5 separate regions of the Homo sapiens genome follow, and all the other regions are linked to region 3. The links are contacts of gene promoters, found by promoter capture Hi-C in blood cells and fetal thymus (Javierre and others, 2016). All regions are on one chromosome and are shown on one strand. Each heading gives the region's core, a stretch centred on a gene start or on the middle of the fragment in contact. The rest is flanking DNA. Distances are from core to core; before and after follow the strand shown.

Region 1 (2,801 bases), core at 181-2,680, 150 kb after region 3:
GGCCACTTTTGGTCCTAACAAGCAGTTCACCAAGAACAGGGCAACGGCTAAAAGATGAAGGGTGTCCAGACGCCGATGAGGGATCCCAGGCCCTGGAGAAAGACGGTTACAGGATACCAAGATTCCTGGTGGTTTTCCAGGGCATTCCAGTATTAGAGCCCTCACCCTCCTTCCCGAGGTTCTGCGCTGATCCAGTGCAGAAGCTGCATGCACTGGAGAAATGGCTAACTCTGTGCCCAGGGCTGGACGGAGCAGCATCGCAGATCAAAAGGCCGCCACCCCCAAGAAGTCCATGAAAGGCAATCACCCCTCAAAGCAAACGCTCTTCTTTCCAGGACTCACAGAGATTATCAAGTCCCAGCTCTTGCACCCCCCAACATGCCCTTTCCCTTCCTGCCTCATTACTCTGTTGAAGTTCCATTCCTGTTCCACAACCACCCAGATCTCTCCCGTGCCTCTGCCTTCCTTCCCAATGAGAAGCAGGGGGAATGCTGGGTGCCCATTCTTTAAAACAAACAGGAAGTGGGGGAGGGGGAGCTGGGAGGATTGAGGGGGAAGGGAGAGAATGGCATTCAAGGACTGGAGCTTGACATTCTAATGCTTTGGGCAGGAAGGGAGGAGGCCACCATGCTTTACTAGGTCATGGAGAGGCGGAGCAGGCCTTTGAGCACACGCTCAGGCCAGGGCACCACAGTGCAGGTTGCTCAGAGGCTCCCCGGGCCTAGAGCACGGGCATCAGTTTCACCCACTCTGGGCATTTGCTGCCAACTCGGGAATACCCTTCACTTTTCCATTACTTCTGCATGGCAAATATATGTATAGATATTATCGTGTGTGTATGTGTGTGTGTGTGTGTGTGTGTGTACAATCAAAACTTATCCTCTGTAGCGAAAAAAAAAAGTATTAATTATGTTTTGGATTGTCTTCATAGAGATCTGAGAGCATAATTTAAGTAAATACTGTAGTCATGACTAGCAATGCTATATTATTCTTATTTGAATTTTAACCCTAAGAATTTTCCAGTCTGCTAGCCAAACCAACACTTGGGCACATTTATAGTTCTCAAAAGCTAAACTCATCCCAGTGTTCTCCTGACTACTATGAGAGGTTTGGAGTTCTGGAGTTCGGACATGACACGGTTTCCCTGCATGTGTGATGAGACGTGTGTGGATGTGTCAGAAGATCGGCCTTTGGGTCAATGCGTATTTTGGGTGCTGCTTGCTTCTTGCTCCTTTGGGTGTGCCCAAGTCCCATGGCCTCTTTCAAGAGTTCTGAGCAAACCCATTCCTGTTCCCCTGTCTCATGGTTCGCCAGACATTACTGGGGCAGGAGAAGGGCTGTCAGCTGGGGCAGTCAGCAAGAGTGACTCTCTGATTGCCCTGGCTAGGAGCCCCTTCCTGATACCCAGGTAAGAGCAAACTGTTCCTTGAACTGTGCACACAGGGCATGGAAACCCTGCTTGTCAATGGATTGAAATGAAAATCCCAAATTCTACACTTTCTGTGACAAACAAGCCACTGGGCTTCCTTTGACTTCTTCGTTGTTGTGGACTATGATTCATAACAGTTTAGTATGTTATGCAACTAGATAATCATAACTATATGTGTGTAATATAGCATACTCTATATGTATGTAGTATAGCATACTCTATATGTATGTAGTATAGCATACTACATATGTATGTAGTATAGCATGAACACACACACACACAAAATGTTAGGATGGTGTGTTCCAACACAAAGGCATGCACACTCACAACCACACAGCAACAACCCCTCTAAGCGTTCCACAGCCACCAGTGTCTCAATCAGCCTCGGGCCGCCCTATCGCCTCCTCGCCTCCCGAAGTCTGTTCCATGCACTCGTAATTGTATCGTCTGCATTATCGGGCACATTCCTTTTTTTTTTTTTAAGGTTACTGAAGTGAACTAATTTATTTGGTCTGGTCATTTTAGCACCAACAATTATAGAAGAATCGGCCAATTATTTTTATTTTTATTTATTTTATTGTTTTTTTATTATACTTTAAGTTCTAGGGTACATGTGCACAACGTGCAGGTTTGTTACATATGTGTACATGTGCTATGTTGGTGTGCTGCACCCATTAACTCGTCATTTACATTAGGTATATCTCCTAATGCTATCCCTCCCCCGACCCCACAACAGGCCCCGGTGTGTGATGTTCCCCACCCTGTGTCCAGGTGTTCTCATTGTTCGATTCCCACCTATGAGTGAGAACATGTGGTGCTTGGTTTTTTGTCCTTGTGATAGTTTGCTGAGAATGATGGTTTCCAGCTTCATCCATGTCCCTACAAAGGGCATGAACTCATCCTTTTTTATGGCTGCATAGTATTCCATGGTGTCTATGTGCCACATTTTCTTAACCCAGTCTATCACTGATGGACATTTGGGTTGGTTCCAAGTCTTTGCTATTGTATCGGGCACATTCTTGCCAGCAAAGAATTTCCATTTTGACTAGGTGTCAATGGAAACAGCATCTTCTCCTTACCATTTTATACATCTGATAACTGAAAAACTCTCCGAAGACTAGACTCTGGCACCACACATTGTAAATCCTGTTTCCACTTTCCTATCAGCCTGGCTCTGGGGACACGGGCCACAGGACATGTTTATGCTGGGATATGACCTCAGGCCCTGTCCTCCCTGTGGAAATGCCACAAGAGCCAGCACAGGGGGCTGAAGGTTGTCCCTGCAAGCCACTTCTACATCAGAACAGCTGGCGATAGCTTCATACAGGCTGAAGAGACTGCAAATTGCATCAATGTTCCACCAAATTCAAAA
Region 2 (2,700 bases), core at 111-2,610, 170 kb after region 3:
CCAGTGCTTCTGCAACCTAGTGATGCTTACCCACTGTGACTCCTCGCGTCAGTATACCCCGGGATGTGTGGAGGCGTTTAAAGGGCTGATGACTTAGAGCTGGTGGTGACATTTTGGAACCTATGGTGCCAGCCACCATTAGGGAAATCCTACACTGATTCATTGGCTCTTCTAGGTAAGGGTTTCAAGAAGCAAGGTCTTCTTGGTAGGAATCTAAGAGAAGAGGCATCCTGGTTGTGTTGGACAGAACATGGTCTTTGCAGCCAGACAAATCTTGATTTAGTACGGACTCCAGAATGTCTGTGTAGACAGGATTTGGGGCAGCAATAATCTCAATGAAAGGGAGATGACAGGGAAGCACATATTGAAGCTACATTTTTGCCTCCTGTAGGCTCTTCCGACTTAGATTGTGTGTTTATTTGGGATAATTGTGGAGAAGGGGGCTGCTACAGATGATGGTTACAACGAAAGCCTCCCAAACCACCCCTTGATAATGACACTGTCTGGATTCAAATCAGCATCTACCACTTACCGTCTATGTGACCTTGGGCGAGTAACTTAGCATCTCCGAGCTACTGTTTTCTTATTTGTAAAATGAGAAGAATAATTCCACTCTGGCAGGGCTTTTGTGGGGGATTACATTGGATAACATATGGGAAAGGGCTTAGCACAATGCAGGCATATAATAGGCTCTCAACATATGGAAGTCTCTTTCCTTCTTTCCATCGCTGGTCCCCAGATGTCTCAGGATCCTAATGAAGTATCCAGATGAGGACTGAGATCTAGAAAGTTCTTTTTTTTTAAGTTAGATATTTGTGGGGGTTTGCTTTTGGATTTTGTTGCCCACCGTTAAGTGTATTTCAAGGGGACACTACATCTGCCCTGCACATTGTAAGTCCAGAATACCATGCAGCTGGCCTACTTGAAAGGGAGCCTTCACAGGCTGAACTACACAGGCAGCACCAGTCCTGAGGATGAAAAAGCCACCATAGCAAATGAATTAGGTCAGCGGCTTTCCTAAAGTCTAGAGGCAGCAGAATCTTCCTACAGTGGGATTTTTTAATGGTTTTTTTCTCCTGGTTTTTGTAGTGTGTGTGTGTGTGTTTCCTTTCTCACTGAACTCCTGGAGGCTGGACAAGACACAGGATGATAGAATAGAAGGAAAAAGAAGGAGACATTATAAGTACATGCCCCAGTACCAAGTTCTTTGCAAGGAATCTCTGGAGACGACTGGTGGAACTCATGGGGTTGGCAGAAAACTACTGACTTTGCATGGCCAACACTCATTGGTTCATTCATGCATTCAGGAAGCATTTGCTGAGGGAGGCTGACAGCTCCCTGGGAGATGTTAATACATGACATAGCCCCAGTCCCTACATTCTAATGAGTTGTTCCAAATAACAAGTGTTGGGACTCAGAAAACAATACCCCAAAAGGAAGGCTTAGCCTCAGAAGCAAAAGTTTTTCTCTGATCTTCTCCTGCCCTCCTATCTCTTGCCCCTCATTCTCCCCGAGGCCAGCCATAGAAACCAGAATCCCTCTTCCCCAAGGCGGATATAAAAACCAGAACCCCTTTTCCCCAAAGCCAGCCATAAAACCTAAAATACAACTCTAGCTTTCCTTCCACCTTTCTGTGTAAAAACTGGCCATAAAGACCTCATCTAACCTATCTTATTTGACTGTAGGTCATAAGACCCCCACTCCAGAAAGGATCCTGTCCCATACCCAGAAGGAAGGAATGCGGCATGGATGCCTGGAAGAATCTAGGCAGACAGGCCTTGCTGCGCTTTCTACTCAGTCTAGTCTAGCATTCCATCAGACCCTTTTTGTCCAGTCATATTTCTATGTGACTATCCATACTGTCTTGAACCTAAGTGTAAAAGTGGACAATTTCCCCTCTATCTTTGGGTCTTCATTCTGAAGGCTCCTGTGTATACACATTAAATAAATGTGTATGCCTTTTTTCCTATTAATCAATCTTCTTCATGTCAGTGATTTTCCAGTGAACCTTTGGGAAGAAATGCTGGCTCAATTAGAAATAGAAATTTGCAAGCCAGGTGCGGTGGCTCACGCCTGGAATCCTAGCACTTTGGGAAGCCAAGGTCAGGATCACCTGAAGTCAGGAGTTTGAGACCAGCCTGGCCAACATGGTGAAACCCTGTCTCTACCAAATATACAAAATTAGCCAGGCTTGGTGTTGCCTGCCTGTAGTCCCCACTACTCAGGAGACTGAGACAGGAGAATCGCTTGAACCCGGGAGGCAGAGGTTGCAGTGAGCCAAGATCACACCACTGCACTCCAGCCTGGGTGACAAGACCAAAACTCCATCAAAAAAAAAAAAAAAGCAAGGAAAGAAAGAAAGAAAAAAGAAGGGAAGGAAGGAAAGAAGGAAGGAAGGAAGGAAGAAAGAAAAGAAAAGAAAAGAAAAGAAAAGAAAAGAAAAGAAAAAAGAAAAGAAAAGAAAGAAAAGAAAAGAAAAGAAAAAAATAAATTTGCAAAAAGATCCGCTATTAGACCTAGGCCAGTGGATCATGAAGCCACACACACCACACTTTGTTTCCTTGCAGGGATCCAGTCCCTCCCCTGAGAATGCAGGCTCCTGACTTCTGGTCTCCCACACCCTCGGTGCTATGCAGTGTCAGCCCAGTATCTGGCTCACAGCAGTCCTAGTGAGCATCTCTTGGGGAGTCCCCTTTACCA
Region 3 (2,797 bases), core at 1-2,500:
CACCAGGGTGGGCGGCACCGCGTGGCCGCGCCGCGGGTTCGGGCTCTGGCGATTCAGCTCGGGCGGCTCCTCTAGCTTGGAGAAGCCGTTGGGCACCAGGATGCCGTTCACGGGCGGCGGCTGCGGCGTCGGCGGCTGGGCCAGGCTCGCTGCCGGGCGGCTGCTGCCGAAGTCAGAGCCGAGGCGCGGGGGCCTCTCGGCCGCGGCCGCCAACGGGTAGCGCTCCAAGGCCTGCGGCGCGCGCGGGGCCGCCTCGGGGCCGCCGTGGCCAAGCTGCTGCTGCTGCTGCAAAAGGATGTCCTTGGCGGAGAGCGGCGGCGGCTTGGCGGCGGCCGAGGCCGCGGCGCCGGGTGGGGAGCGACCCTCCGGGAAGCAGCCGTGCGCCCGCTTGAGCTGCCGCGCCGTCTCGATGACGAACTCGACGCGGTCGGCGCCCTCGTAGTTGACGCAGCCGCGGCAGACGGGTTCGGTGAAGTCCCAGATCATGGCCCAGGGCATGCGGGGCAGGTCACACAGGTAGCACGACTGCCGCCGGGACGCGGCCGCCACCGCCACCGCCGCGGCCATGTCCGAGGAGCCCGCGACGCCGGAGGAGGAGGCGGAGGAGGAGGAGGGGGCGCCGCCGCCGCCCCCCACCGGCACCACGCGCGCCCTCCTCCCCCCCCAACCCCGCGTCTCCCCCACCAGCGGCGGCGGCGGCCGCAAAGGCGGCGGCGGCGGCGGCAAAGCCCGCGAAGGCTCGGCGCCCGCGCAGCGCCCCCGGTGCACGAGGGGCGGCGGGCGCGAGGTGAGGGGCTGCAGCCGCGGCAGCAGTTCCCCCCGGCCGGCCCGGGCACGGGCGGGCGGCGCGGCGCGGCGGGGCGGCGGGCGCGGCGGTGGGGGCTCGGCCGGAGCCGCGGCGGGCCTCCAGACCGGGGCGAAGACGGGCCGCGCGGGCGCGGGGGAGCGCAGCAGGTCGCGGCGGCGGCCGGCACGGAGTGCGGGGCGGGGGGCGGGGAGGCCGGGGGGGCAGGGGGCGGGGGGCGGCCGCCGGGGCAGGCTCAGCCCGAGCGGCGGGGCATGCCGCGCCGGGGTGGCGGCGGCCGGGCGGCGTGGAGCTCGGGCGCGGCGCGGGCCCCGGGTCGCTCCGCCGCTCTCTCACAGCTCCTGGCGTCGCCGCTCTCCAGCGCCAGCGTCAGCGGCCAGCCCGCCTCAGCTCCGCCGCCGCCACCGTCGCTGCTGCTGCTGCCGCCGCGACCGCTCCACTTCTACAGACTTGATTCTTCGACAGTCTCGCACGGCGCCTGCGCGGGCCCCCTCCCCTCGTGCGCGTGCCCGCCCTCCCGCGCGCGCGCTCCCCCTCCCCCCGCGCGCCGAAGGAGCGCTGCCGGGAGAGCCGGCTACGCGGCGCCCGCCCGCCCGCGGGGCAGCGCAGCAGCGCAGCGCCGGTGTTCCCTTCGGAACACCGCGCAAAGTGATCGAGTGCTTTTCCTCCACTTTCCCTCACTTCGCGCCCCACCCGGCTGTCCCGACCACCCTCAGGATGTTTTCCTCTGGTGTGCCTCTGGGCCAAATCGTGCTAAAAATCATTTTTTTTCTTTTATGCAAGGACACTTTGTCACTTGGTTTCCGTCAGTCTCCTGAGAATGGGGAATTTAGGTCTAGCGTGGTTCACAGTTCTGGTTTTTTAGGAGTTATACTTGAAAGCTCAATGTCGGACACATAGCATGAAATCCGTCACTGGTGCTTTGCATTTGTCTTGGAAAGGACATACGCCCCGCCTGTCCCTTTTACTAACTAGGGAGACTGTGAATATTCCCAAGCCCAGCACCACGTGCACACGCCGCCAGCTGGCTCGCGCGTTTTCCACGGAGCCCTCTGGAGGGGAGGGAGCGCGGTTCGGACTAGCCTCTCCCGAACACCAAGTGCCGCTCTTAGCCCCGTCCAGCCCGCCCTGTTCATCGGGGGCCTCGCCGCGCCAGTCGCCCCGGCTGCCTTATGTAGGTATGCGCGGCGGGCGCGTGACGTGGGCGCGGGGCCGTGGGCGGCCGCCGCCGCGAGTGCGCACGCTCCGCGCAGACGTGCCTCGGCGCCGCTGGCACTAGGGCCTCGTGGAACGAATGCACATTCCAGGGATCCGGGGTCTACGGCCAGCGCGGCCGCGTCACAGCGCAGGCTCCACCCCCTTCGGCGAGTCTGGGCGTCGAGGCGCCGCCCCCGGGCCCGAACTTGGACTCGAGGTGGCGGGAGGCGAGGGCGCGAGTGGGGGGGGGGGGGGTCCTGCTCGCCTCCGCGAGGTTCCCGAGGGCCGTGGGGGCGACCGGCTGGCTGGCTGGCCCGCCGTCCCGCAGGGCGGGCCGCCGACGGAGGCGGACTTTTGCCCTATATGCCACCCAGGCCGGGATGAGCCCGGCCTGCAGGTCTGCCACCGTTGGCAGCCTCAGACTCAGCCCAGACTGAATTGAATGTTTGAGTTTCGCACTTTTATCGGGAGGAGGAGCTAGTGTGTGTTATGGTAAATCACTTTGGGCTGGTCGTTAGTCTCCCTAATACACGTAGGCTTAGTCGCTCTTCAATTGGGACTTTTACACTTAAGCTCTTTAAGGGCGGCCTCTGGAGCTGCTTTTGTTGGGAACACAGGCCCACAACTCTCCCTTGAGACTGGAATGAGCTGGTTAAGTGTGGGAAGAACAGGGTACTAATTATATTATCTTTCCTACAACTGGATTGGTAGGTGGAGAGAAAAAAAAAATCATGCTGACGTTTCTCTCTAGTCGTTGCTATTGAAAATACCAGGTTGCTTCAAAGGATTAACCAC
Region 4 (2,724 bases), core at 188-2,687, 130 kb after region 3:
AGGAGGAATGCTATAGAAAATAAACAAACAGGCCGGGCGCGGTAGCTCACGCCTGTAATCCCAGCACTCTGGGAGGCTGAGGCAGGTGGATCAAGAGGTCAGGAGATTGACACCAACCTGACTAACCCGGTGAAACCCTGTCTATACTAAAAAATACAAAAACTTAGGCAGGTGTGGTGGCACACGCCTGTAGTTCCAGCTACTTGGTAGGCTGAGGCAGGAGAATGGCGTGAAGCCGGGAGGTGGAGCTTGCAGTGAGCCGAGATCACGCCACTGCACTCCAGCCTGGGCAACAGAGCGAGACTCCATCTCAAAACAAAAAAAAAGAACATAAACAAACAAAAAACAGAGTGAGAGAAGGGAGACCAGGGATGCTAAGGCCAAGCAGATGGGGTCAGTATTGCAGGTAAGTTCAACAAAGGTCAGGGTGGGCATTGAGCAGTGAGGTCTGAGCAGGCACTGGGAGGGGAGGAGTGGCCAGAGCCCTATCAGGGCGAAGAATGTTGCAGACAGAAAGAACAAGTAGGGTCAAGGCGCGGTGGCTCACACCTGTAATCCCAGCACTTTGGGAGGCTGAGGCAGGTGGATCACCTGAGGTCAGGAGCTCAAGACCAGCCTGGCCAACATGGCGAAACCCCATCTCTACTAAAAATACAAAATTAGCTAAGAGTGGTGGTGCATGCCTATAATCCCAGGTACTTGGGAGGCTGAGGCAGGAGAACCACTTGAACCTGGGAGGCGGGGGTTACAGTGAGCCGAGATCAGACCATTGCACTCCAGCCTGAGCGACAAGAGCAAAACTGCACTAAAAAAAAAAAAAAAAAAAGGAAAGGAAGGAAGAAGAAAGAGAAAGAAAGAGAGAAAGAGAAAAAGAAAGAAAAAGAAAGGAAGAAAGAGAGAAAGGAAGAAAGAGAGAAAGAAAGAGAGAGAAAGAAAGAAAGAAAGAAAGAAAGAAAGAAAGAAAGAAAGAAAGAGAGAAAGAAAGAGAGAAAGAAGTAGGGCAAAGGCCCTACAGTGGTAGCATGTCTGGCTTTTTGGAGGAATCGCAAGGAGGCCAGTACTGCTGAACTGGAGTCAAACTGGGCAGGTGGTAGGTCATAAGATTGGAGAGATGGTGGAGGTGGGTGTAATGATTTCTGCTCTTCTCTGGGTGAGCCAGAAGCTTCTGTAGGGTCCCGAGCAGGTGTAGCACTACCTTACATTTGCAAAGAATCACTCTGGCTGGTGGGTTGAAGGTAGATGCAGACCTATCGGAGGTCACAGTTGTCATCCAGGGGCAAAAAATGGCAGTGGCTCAGAGTGACAACAGTGGAGCTGGATATATTTTGTGGGAATAAGTGGGATTTCCTGACAGTTTGGATGTGGAGTAAAAAAGAAAGAAGTCAAGGATGACTCTGAGGTTTGGGGCCTGAGCCACTAGGAGAATGAAATGCTCCCAGCTGAGATAGGAAGGCTGTGGCTGGAACAGGTTTGGTGGGAGGCAGCCTAGGGGAATAGGGAGCCCAGTTTCGGGCATGTTGAGTTGCAGATGTTCATTAGCTTCCTGGAGATGTCAAGAAAGTCCTTGGATCTATTATGAGTATCGGAAATATTTTAGAACATCTGTAAACAAGTAAGACAAGATTTCAGGTGTTTCAGCCCATGTTACCATAAAAAATTTGAAGCATTAAAATAAAAAATGTTTAAAAAATTTTTAAAAAGAGATTTCAGATGTAAGCTTCATTCATCAGGGCAACAAAAATGGGTATCAATCTTCTTGTTTCCCGTAAGACACGTCATGGAATAAGTGCCATGGTATATTCAGTACCACAGAAATTCCTGACTGGGATGGGCAGGAGAAAGGAGGGAAGTCACCCAGAAGCAAGAGAGGAAGCCAGTATAGGATTAGTAATTTTTGTTCCAGATAATCAAGGACTGGGTAAATACATGCAAAGAAACCTATGTTAAAATGAACGTAAATACCTTATCTGGAAGGACAAGTCAAATCTCACATACAGGCCTGGAAATAAAAAGCTTGATTAATTTCACATTAGGTTACCAAAACTCTTGGTACTTAACAGTTAACCAGAAATTAACCAGAGAGCCAAAAAGTAGATTATCGGTAATTCTTCTGTGAATTAAGAAGGAATGGGCAGTAGAGGCTGGGCGCGGTGGATCTCGCCTGTAATCCCAGCACTTTGGGAGGCCGATGCAGGCGGATCATGAGGTCAGAAGATCGACACCATCGTGGCTAACACGGTGAAACCCCGTCTCTACTAAAAATAACAAAAAATTAGCCAGGCGTAGTGACGGGCGCCTATAGTCCCAGCCACTCGGGAGGCTGAGGCAGGCGAATGGCGTGAACCGGGAGGCGGAGCTTGCAGTGAGCCAAGATCAGGCCACTGCACTCCAGCCTGGGCAACAGAACGGAGCGAGACTCAGTCTCAAAAAAAAAAAAAAAAAAAGAAGGAATGGGCAGTAGAATTGTTTTTCTGTAATACCTGCTCATACCAAATTTACTTTTAAGTGTCAGCAAATTTCTTGGCTAATTATCACAAGTCTCAGAAAAACGACGTGGCTATATTTCAATAATTGGAGCAAGAATTTTAGGTAGGTCACCGCCCGCAGCCCGTCCTCTCTGAGCCCAAGCCACCCCGTGCACTTCCGTTTAGTATGTCTACTTTGAGATGCATGGAAATGAAACCCGTCAATTCAGATCTTGGGAGATCTCCAGCCAGGGATGTG
Region 5 (2,812 bases), core at 180-2,679, 240 kb after region 3:
TCTGCAAAAAAATACAAAAATTAGCTGAGAGTTGTAGCATGCACCTGTAATCCCAGCTACTCGGAAGGCTGAGGCACAAGAATCGCTTGAACCTGAGAGGTGGAGGTTGCAGTAAGCTGAGATCGTGCCACTGCACTCCAGTGTTGGTAATAGAGCCAGACGCCATCTCAAAATAAATAAATAAGTAAATAATTTAAAAAATTTTTTAATTAAAATAAAAGCCAAGTGTGGTTGGGTGCACCTGTGGTCCCAAGTACTCAGGAGGCTGAAGCCAAAGGATGGCTGGAGCCCAGGAGCCAGAGGCTACAGTGAGCCACAATCATGCCACTGCACTCCAGCCTGGGTAACAGAGCAAAACCCTGTCCAAAAAAAAAAAAAAAGAATTACATTTTCTTAGAAATTCACAGGAGATGACAAAGTAGAAAAACATATATATGTGTGTTTTGTTAGAAAACACTTGAGGACTACACATCTGAAGGGAAGGCTGAACTGGCATGATTGGCATGGCGACATCATCATGGATCGGTGGGTGGCCCACCCAGGCCAGAGGGACTGTCTCCAGGAAGGTGAATCATGGTTTTCCTAGCAGTTTGCACCACTGCCCAATCTTCCTTATCATTCTTTCACTTCCCCTTTTATCCACAATCAGAAGCAGTGGACAAAAAGAAGGGAAGGAGGAGCCCGAGGACTCCAGGACTCATAGCGGAACTGAAGCCACCGTCACTGCAGGGCAGGGAAGCACATGACCTCTGGCAGGAAGAGGGGTTAGAAACTCCAGCCCCAGGTTTGAATCCTGAGGCCCCTAAGAATGTTTTCACTTTCAACAGCCATCACCTGCAGCTCTTTATCAGCAGTATTGCCTGCAGAGTAGTACAGCTGCTTTGCTTGCACAGAGAAGGAACCTATAGCCTGCAGGAACATATGTCCCCCTGGGGCAGCCCTTAACAGATGACCAATGAATGGCTGATGATGAGAGCATGCAGCCCCAGCTCCTTGCCTTGGGTGGGGCAGCTCTGAGGCACTTATACTTTAGAGCTGCCCTGGGGACAGGACTCCCTACAGAATTTGCAAGACCCAGTGCAAAATGAAAAAGCAGATCCCTTGTTCAAACAGTATGAAGAATTTCAAGACAGCAACAACAGCAGAGCATCAACCCAAGTGTAAGGCCTAAGTGTGGGGCCCGTGTGACTGCACAGGCGCACGGCCCTGCAGCCATCCCTGCTTGCAGAATCAGGTGTAAGCCACCCTCTGAGATCATCCCTGGCCCCTTCCCAGACCAGCTTCCCCAACTCTTTTACCAGGTTCCTCCAGGGAGCCCTTCCTTACAAATCTCCTGCACACAAATCCTCATCTGAGAGTCTGCTTCTGTGTCCCCAGTTAAGATAGATCTTTGGGCATGCTACCGCAGCATCTTTAAACCTCGGTTTGCTCTGTAAACCAAAAAATATCTGAGAGGAATCTCAACCAATTTAGGAAGTTTATTTTACCAAGGTTAAGGACACATGCCCTGGAGGAAGGTCTGTGCCTTTCTCCAAAGATGATTTTGAAGGCTTATTTAAAGGGGAAAGGGCAGATATTGGAAGAAAAGGAAGAAATTTTTTAAAGGTGTGGGTAGGTAAGAGACAAACTTTGCATTCTTTTGAGTCTTTGTTCAGCTTTTCATTAAATAGACAATTTACATGTGAGGGGGTGGAGGAATATTCACTTATGCCTTCATTTTTACATCAGAAAAAAACAATCAGATATGCTTTTGTCTCAGGTGAGCAGAGGGATGACTTTGAGTTCTGTCCTTTGTCCTGCACCCATGAAGATAAGCTATCCATTTACATTGTCAGGTAATTCAACAGAACCATTTTAGGGTAAAGATCTTGCAGACCACAAGGAATTTCCTGGTGGGCAAATTGTGAAAGGGATCTGTAGCTTTTTTATCTTTGTAGCTATCTTATTTAGGAATAGAATGGGAGGCAGGTTTGCCTGACGCAGTTCCCGGCTTGACTTTTCCCTTGGATTAGTGATTTTGCGGTCCTGAGATTTATTTTCCTTTCACACCTTCATATATAAAATTCGGGGTGGGGGAATAGAGTGTATTTTGTAGAGCTGTTGGGAGAATTGTGTGAGATAATGCACGCAAAGTGCTTAGTACCATGCCAAGCACGTAACAAATGTTCAGTGAATGCTAGTTAACATCATTTTTATCGTCATCACCACTAAAATTAAGCATCCTTGCCTTAACAAGGGAAATAAGAGTAAATATAACCCTGCCTGTTCCCTCTTTCCCTACCCTGGGAAGTCCATGCCCAAGCCTTTGGCCCAAGTTTCATCAGTAAAATTTTTTGGGGGGAACGGAGTCTCACTTTGTTGCTCAGGCTGGAGTGCAGCTCACTGCAAGCTCCACCTCCCAGGTTCAAGTATATCTTCTCCCTCAGCCTCCTGACTAGCTGGGACTACAGGCGCACACCACCACGCCCGGCTAATTTTTTATTTTTAGTAGAGATGGGGTTTCACCATATTGGCCAGGCTGGTCTTCAACTCCTAACCTCCTGATCCACCTGCATTGGCCTCCCAAAATGCTGGGATTACAGGCGTGAGCCACTTGACAAAGACAGAGGTGGCTGAGAATGAAAGCAGAGAAGTCCCTTTGACAAAACAATTATAAAAGAGCAAATCTGATTTAAGGGTGCTTAAAGCCCTGTTTTCCTTGGCCAAAACAAATTAAGTTTCTTTTTTTTTTTTTTTTTGAGACAGAGTCTCGCTCTGTCACCCAGGCTGGAGTGCAGTGGCATGATCTCAGCTCACTGCAACCTCTGCCTCC

The links. Contacts are between HindIII fragments. The CHiCAGO score rates a contact against its expected background, and 5 or more counts as called.
Region 1: a fragment that was not itself captured here is called in contact with the fragment with the promoter of IRF2BP2 in region 3 in 2 of 17 cell types (total CD8 T cells and naive CD8 T cells); the score reaches 9.9 in total CD8 T cells.
Region 2: a contact is called between a fragment that was not itself captured here and the fragment with the promoter of IRF2BP2 in region 3, in 1 of 17 cell types (monocytes). The highest score is 5.4, in monocytes.
Region 4: a fragment that was not itself captured here is called in contact with the fragment with the promoter of IRF2BP2 in region 3 in 11 of 17 cell types (erythroblasts, megakaryocytes, activated CD4 T cells and 8 more); the score reaches 8.5 in erythroblasts.
Region 5: a contact is called between a fragment that was not itself captured here and the fragment with the promoter of IRF2BP2 in region 3, in 11 of 17 cell types (M2 macrophages, M0 macrophages, M1 macrophages and 8 more). The highest score is 20.4, in M2 macrophages.

Annotation. Positions count from the first base shown.
Region 1 is chr1:234,759,983-234,762,783 of GRCh38, forward strand. The region is part of intron 1 of LOC107985364 (a long non-coding RNA gene); the gene reads left to right. LINC02961 (long intergenic non-protein coding RNA 2961) reads right to left here and starts at 74. Exons shown (of 1, transcript NR_148962.1): 1 at 1-74. RefSeq lists enhancers at 596-1,175, 1,176-1,753. The HindIII fragment of the contact is 3,834 bases long and covers 1-2,801 here.
Region 2 is chr1:234,781,677-234,784,376 of GRCh38, forward strand. The region is part of intron 1 of LOC124904557 (a long non-coding RNA gene); the gene reads right to left. Among named protein-coding and RNA genes, the nearest start is that of LINC02961, 23 kb to the left of the region's middle. The HindIII fragment of the contact is 5,487 bases long and covers 1-2,700 here.
Region 3 is chr1:234,608,928-234,611,724 of GRCh38, forward strand. IRF2BP2 (interferon regulatory factor 2 binding protein 2) reads right to left here and starts at 1,251. Exons shown (of 2, transcript NM_182972.3): 1 at 1-1,251. The coding sequence starts at 567. RefSeq lists silencers at 66-345, 586-665, 1,046-1,145, 1,206-1,395, 1,876-2,475 and enhancers at 726-1,423, 1,526-1,625. The HindIII fragment of the contact is 9,061 bases long and covers 1-2,797 here.
Region 4 is chr1:234,740,142-234,742,865 of GRCh38, forward strand. No RefSeq gene overlaps it. Among named protein-coding and RNA genes, the nearest start is that of LINC01132, 17 kb to the left of the region's middle. The HindIII fragment of the contact is 555 bases long and covers 1,161-1,715 here.
Region 5 is chr1:234,851,027-234,853,838 of GRCh38, forward strand. The region is part of intron 2 of LOC107985365 (a long non-coding RNA gene); the gene reads right to left. Among named protein-coding and RNA genes, the nearest start is that of LINC02961, 92 kb to the left of the region's middle. RefSeq lists an enhancer at 516-810. The HindIII fragment of the contact is 4,019 bases long and covers 1-2,812 here.